Regions from separate parts of the Homo sapiens genome. Here region 1 is linked to region 2. The links are contacts of gene promoters, found by promoter capture Hi-C in blood cells and fetal thymus (Javierre and others, 2016). All regions are on one chromosome and are shown on one strand. The core of a region is centred on a gene start or on the middle of the fragment in contact, and the rest is flanking DNA. Distances in the headings are between cores, read along the strand shown.

Region 1 (3,292 bases), core at 315-2,814, 240 kb after region 2:
GGCTTAGCAAAGCCTTGAAAGGTTCCCAGCATAACCCAGCTAAGGTGGGAGGGAGCACAGGTGAGAACCCAGGCCCCTCTACACTCTCAATCACTCTGCAGTATTTTCCGGGTCCTTCTTACAGCTCACACAACTGTCCAGCACTCCTTTGTCCCCCGAACGCATCACCCCCAGCCATCTTAGGCCGGGCCAGCCCCCCGCCCCCACCCTCACCCCCTCCCTCACCCCCTCCCTCACCCCCTCCCTCACCCCCTCCCTCTCCTTGGCCCAGAAGTAAATCCTAAGTAGTCTAAATCCGTTATGACCAACCCCTTCCCTTGCCCAGGCACTGGCTTAGAAAAGAGCATGTGACCAGTCCTGGCCAAGGCCAAGCCAGGGGACATCTGTTGGGGTTTTCTGGGAAATGCTTCCTTGCCCTAAAAAAAGACACCTCTAGCGATTCCAGTTTCTTCTGTTGTAGAATGTATATCCACCACCTGGCAACCACGGAGGAGCCAGGGAACAAAGTTAGTCTTTGCAGAGATTTACAGGATTAAGTGAGCTAACTCCAGGGTTAAAGTTTAGGAGAATCATGTTTTAGTCCTATCTCTACCTGCGATGGAGTCATGCTGCCTCGTGTTTATTCAGGGACATATTTAAAGTTAACTCCTTTTTGAAACGAGACAAGATAAAAAGATGTAAACAAAGGAAAACTCCAGAAATTTGGTCTTGTCTCCATTAAAGAGTGTCTGTTTCTAGGCACTTCAGTGGAACCTCTCACTTCCAGCTTCTCTTCCTGGGCACTCACCTCTAACTCATTCAGCTTTTTTCCCTCAAAGTAGCTCTTTGCCTACACAGGCAAGGCATCTCTTCCCTCCAGGAACATCAGAACCCCCCTTCTAACCCTCCTGCACCCACACACCCAGGCGTCTGAGCTTGACTGCCTTTGAAATGTTTACTGGCCTTCAAGTAGTCTCTTTGAAGAATTTGCATCTAATTTTGAACTTAGGGAAAATCGGGCATAACCAGTCACTTACTAGTTTCCTTGGCAACTACTTTAAAACAGAATCTAAATTGGAATGAAAATGGATTTTTATGGTTTCACTAAAATCATACACACTTTTCATGAAAATATACCAAAAAAACTATAAAAAATATATACATACTATATGCTTTATTCGTTTATCTGGAATCAATACACAGTAACTAACTCAAATATCTCTGTTCCCCACTGCTGAGGAAAGGCACTCCACACTCCCTTAGCAAGACATTTAAGACCCTCCACAATCTGCACCTAACCCAGCTCCAGCCTTATTTGTCTACTACAGTACATCCCCAAATCATGCTATTGCATTTCCTCTCCCATGACATTCTCTAGAATGCCCTTGAACTTCATGTCCAACTGTTCAAATATCACCGATCTTTCCAAGTCCAGATTAAATATCACCTCTTCCAAGAAGCTTTTCCCATTCCTCACATATAATGACACAAATTGAGTTACTTAGTGTTTATTTTCAGCAATATTTAGCATATTTTATTTACTGATACCCAGTATTGTTAAAATAATGCACATTTCCTAACAGTTGGGGGGCTTCAATATTACCATGCAAACAATTAAAATGAGTAATAAATATTATCAGCAGAATTGTATAAATCTTACTCCCAACTTAAGGCTGAGCTGTTCTGTCAGATGTGATAAAATAAAGCTTCATACGCTGCTTGTTTTTCTTAGGATAACTTTGATTTCAGTAATAGAAAACCTGTCTGTAGTAGCTTTAAAAATGAAGAAAATGTAGTATCTCATGTAGGAAGTACCAAGGTAGCAGATGCTAAGTTTGGTTAATTTAGTGGGTCAAAAATGTTTAATGTTGTCAAGTTTTTCTCGTCTTTCTGAAATTCTGCCATCCTCAGCTTGCTGACCTTGTCCTTAGCTAGTTCTCCTCAAGGTCTCAAAATGGCTGCCATAGTTCCAGGCATCACTTTAAGACATGGCAAAGGCCAGCCAAAAAAGTTGACTGTTCTCAAATTTTTTAAGAGTGGAGAAATTATACCAAAGATCCCTCAGATCTTTTCTCATTGGCCAGAACCAGGGCACGTGACTATCTCTAAACTACCACTGGCAAGAGAGGCAAGATTATCAGAATTGATAACTAATCAGGATTTAGTCTTGAATTATTTTGAGGGTAAGGGGAGCGGTGCAGGAGAGCAGGGAATTGACAGGACAGGCAATGCCAAAACAAAAGCTGAATTTTAGTCCGTTTCCCAGTCATCAATTTCTGCAGCCAAACTATCCCAAAGCTTAGTGGCTTAGAAACTTTTTTATTTTTTCTCTAGAATCTGGACAGGGCAGCTCCCAAGGAATAAGGAATAAGGGAGGATGGCTATTGAGTAGGCACTAAAAGTATCAGCAACTTTTCTTTTCTTTCTTTTTTTTTTTTTTTTTTTGAGATGGAGTCTTACTCTGTTGCCCAGGCCAAGCTGGAGTGCAGTGGCACCATCTCAGCTCACTGGAACCTCTGCTTCCCTGGTTCAAGGAATTCTCCTGCCTCGGCCTCCCAAGTAGCTGGGATTAAAGGCGCATGCCACCACGCCTGGCTAATTTTTGTATTTCTAGTAGACACGGGGTTTCACCATGTTGCCCAGGCTGGTCTCAAACACCCAACCTCAGGTGATCCTCCCACCTCGGCCTCCCAAAGTCCTGGGATTACAGGCGTGAGCCACCACGCCTGGCCAGTATCAGCGACTTATGATGGCTTTTTATTTGAAGATCAAAACCAATCACACTTTGATTATTCTTATATTGGTTCTTTCTACCAAAAAATAGTGTTTGAAAAAATGGTATATATTGATTTAGTCGATAGCAAACTGCTTGGCTGAATCCAATTGATATTTTCTTAGGGTGCAGTAAAATATTTGCTCTTTTGCTTTGCTTTCTCCCCACTAAATAACTAGCCATATTATGGATCCCACATAGGATTTTTCCTTTAACAATATGAATTCTTGACTGAATTAAGCCATTTTTGCCCTAAGTTCTTTAGTTTGTAGACATCTGAGAATTAAGTCAGGAGAATAGCAAATAATTATTTTAATTTAGCAAATAATGTAATAACTGGATTATTCACCATCAGAATATTCCTCTTTGAAAACGTGTAAATCATAGAAATGTTTGAAGATAAAATTATTAGTCATTCCCCTCTCGAAGGCAGATAGGAAAATTGTAACATGTAGTCTTTGTTTTGTAATGTCACTTCATTATCCTAAATAGGCCTTCTAGTTCTCTTTTAATTTATATATATTATAAATAATATTTTTA
Region 2 (3,455 bases), core at 100-2,599:
ACATCTCTGGTGTCTCTTCCTCTTCTTAAAAGGACACCAGTCAGATTGGGTTAGGGCCCATCCACAGGACCCCATTTTAACTTAATCACTTATTCACAGGTCCTATCCAGAGTTAGATTCTGAGGCGCTGGGGGTTAGGGAAGCAGCATAGAAATTTTGGGGAAAAGCAATTCAGCCCATAGCAGCCCTGAGAGAGGTAACACACTAGACTGCTTCGGGGTCACAGGAATGACATTTGCGGCTCCCTTGCTGCACATCTGCTGCTTGAGGGTGGGTCTTTAGGGGATAGTGGGGCTTTTGATAGATGGCCGACCTGGGGCAGGGCAATTCCGGAGCAGAGGGCTCTGACTCCCTGTGAAGGAAGGACCCTGGCTGGAGGATCCCCACCTATGCTCCAAGGTGGTAGCCCTGGGCCTATGAGGGGACCATCACGATGTGGGAATGGGATGCAGGGAGTGGAGCTGAAAGCCCACCAGAGACAAACCCGACTAACTACCCTTCAGTTTTGCCCAAGACGCTGTTCACTTCAACTCATCCATTCATGGAAGTAACTTTCCTGCCAAGCTCTCTTCCTCTGGTGATGGTGGAGATTCTATACACTTTCTTCATGGTCTCTCAGCCAGCGGCAGCTTCTGGGCCCACCTTGCTTCACTCCCCATCCATACCCAGCAGGGGCTTCCTAAGGAACTGTATTAGTCGGTTCTCACACTGCTATAAGGACATACCTACGATTGGGTAATTTATAAAGAAAAAGATTTAATTGACTCACAGTTCCGCAGGGCTGGGGAGGCCTCAGGAAATTTATAATCATGGCGGAAGGAGAAGAAAACACTTCCTTTGCGACGTGGCAGCAGCGAGAAGTGCAGAGGGAAGGAGGGGAAAGCCTCTATAAAACCATCAGATCTCGTGAGAACTCACTTGCTATCACGAGAACCGCATGAGGGTAACCGCCCCCTTGATTCAACTACCTCCCTCCGGGTCCTTCCCAGGACACATAGGGATAATGGGAACTGCAATTCAGCATGAGATTTGAGTGCGGACACAGCCAAACCGTATCAGGAACTTATGTGATTAAGCAGTACATTTGAAGAGGAAATGGTTGAGCCGTTGTTATAAGATGCTTCCCAGAGCTTTGCGGTGTCCAGCATTCTGACATCAACGTAGGGTTTCTATCAAGTAGTTGGGCTGTCAGTCTACCACCAGCAAATAAACCTGACCCTCTAAAGGCTGATAGAAAGAAACATCCCATAAGGGGTAGCTCTTCCCTTTACATTACCACCTACCTCAACAATGAGGTCAGCGGGATAGAGCAGAAATTGCACTGGGCTGGAAACCGAGATCCTACTGCTGATTTTGTCTCCAAGTGACTTTGTGACCTCATATAAGTCATTTAACCTTCGTGGGCCTCTTTCCTCGTGAAGGAAATGATGAAAGTGAGTGTTGGAACAATCTGTGATACTCAGCGGCAGGAAAGCTCACCCAGAAGGCTGAAATCTGCATACATAAATAACTCGAAAACAAAGCCATGCTTGGTCCTTTTTTATTTAGTTCAATCAACATATCTCATCTAATGTTAAAAGAAAGGACATAGGATTTTTTTAAAGAAATTTTTGTTTTGAACTAATTTTAGACTTACAGAAAAGTGGCAAAAGTAATATATACTTTCCTTATATCTCTTCTATCATTTCCCCTGATATCACCATCTTATATAACCATAGTACAACTATTAAGAACTGGAAATTAACATCGGCACAATGTAACTAACTGAACTACAGTCCTATTTGAAACTCACAATTTTTTTCCACTAATGTCCTTTTTTTCTGCTCAGGATCTAATCTAAGATCCTAAATTGCATTTAGCTGTATTTCTCCTTCTTCTCCTCCACTGGGTAACGGTTCCATGGTCTCTCCTTTACTTTCATGACCCTGACACTTTGGAAGAAAATGGATCGGTTCCACAGGAGAATATCCCTCAGTTTGGGTTTGTTTGTGCATTCTCATGAGTGGGGTAAGGTTATGCCTTTTTGGTGAGAATACACAAAAATCATGGCACATCTTCCTCAGTGCATCATTCAAGGGGTTCATGAGAGCCACATCTTATAACTGGTGACATTGATCTTGGTCACTTGATTAAGGTGGTGTCTGCTGGGTTTCTCACTGTCAAGTTATTATCTTTCCCTTTGCAGTGGATAAGTATCTAGGCTGACGCTTTGAGACTAGGCATGGCCTGTTTGTCCTCCAGCTTTCACTCACCAGTGCTAGCATCCCTCAGCAGATCTTGTCTGCAGTGCTCACTCTGTGGAGTCCTGTCCTCTTCCCTTCTACATGTATTCATTGGCGTTCCACTGTGCAGAAGCGCTGTCTTTTCTCCTTCATTATTTATGTGGTTTTTGTTTGTTTATTCATATCAGTGTGGATGTTTAATTATTGTATTTGTGGATGTTTTTAGTCTAGCTTAAAATGTAACGCTATCTTTATCTTGCTGCTCAGATCGTCTCAGCTCTTCGCTCTTTCACATTGGTTCCCGAGCTCTTTTGACAGACTCTTATCTTTATTTTGAGCATTTTCTTATTTTCTGGCACCACAAGATGTTTCAGACTGACCTTGTGTTTTCCATGTCCTGGCTTGGGAATCAGCCACTTCTTCACGATTCCTGGTTCCTTTTACAGGAGAATGGTGTGGAGAGACCAAGATCTATGTTGTAGATGGGTCCATTGTTATTGGAATGGTATTGCTTTTAAGCCCTCAAAACAGAGGGCTAGGTATATATGTGTGCATGCTAAGCTGCACAAACATACCCATCTACCTCTGTCTTCTTCTCTCCTGCCCTCTTTAAAGATCTTGAGTTCATAGTGATACCCATGATTCTAAGCTATACCACAGGAAATCATTTTATACTTGTTTCTTCTCTTATTTGTGACATCTTTCTCCAACAGTGAAAACCCTGGCTCTCATCATATACAATATATTTACTTATTTGTTCAATTCCACTACCGTTGTCCCTTGGTATACACAGGGGTTTGGTTCCAGGACCCCCTCACCCATGCCAAAGTTCGTGCATACTCAAGTTCCGAAGTCAGACCTGGGCAACATGAGTAGAGGAAAAGTCTGCCCTCCGCCTCTGCAGGTTTCAAATCCCTCGAATACCGTAAACCACGCCTGGTTGAAAAAAGCCCATGTATAAGTGGACCCTCGCAGTTCAAACCTGCATTGTTCAAGGGTCAACTGTATCTATATAAAGTAGTTTTGAACGGCTAGCTCATACTGCCATGAGAAATGCTTTTACTAACTGATCACAGCGTTTATGCACAGTTCCATGCCCTTGGCTTTTCAGCATCCAGCGGAATACTGTTTTCCACAGTGGTTTAGATTAGTTATTTTCTTCCCTGTTCCTTGAATGTGGTTACCTTATTTATTTGCAGTAGAGTTAGACTCCTTTATTAGTGTTTATTATAT

What was found. Contacts are between HindIII fragments. The CHiCAGO score rates a contact against its expected background, and 5 or more counts as called.
Region 1: a fragment that was not itself captured here is called in contact with the fragment with the promoter of LINC02860 in region 2 in 1 of 17 cell types (megakaryocytes); the score reaches 5.1 in megakaryocytes.

What each region holds. Positions count from the first base shown.
Region 1 is chr7:26,394,578-26,397,869 of GRCh38, reverse strand. The region is part of intron 1 of SNX10-AS1 (SNX10 antisense RNA 1); the gene reads left to right. Among named protein-coding and RNA genes, the nearest start is that of LINC02981, 2.3 kb to the left of the region's middle. RefSeq lists enhancers at 1-134, 1-165. The HindIII fragment of the contact is 246 bases long and covers 1,442-1,687 here.
Region 2 is chr7:26,635,765-26,639,219 of GRCh38, reverse strand. It overlaps LINC02860 (long intergenic non-protein coding RNA 2860), which reads right to left and starts at 1,349. Exons shown (of 4, transcript NR_161202.1): 1 at 1,284-1,349; 2 at 1-725. The HindIII fragment of the contact is 19,305 bases long and covers 1-3,455 here.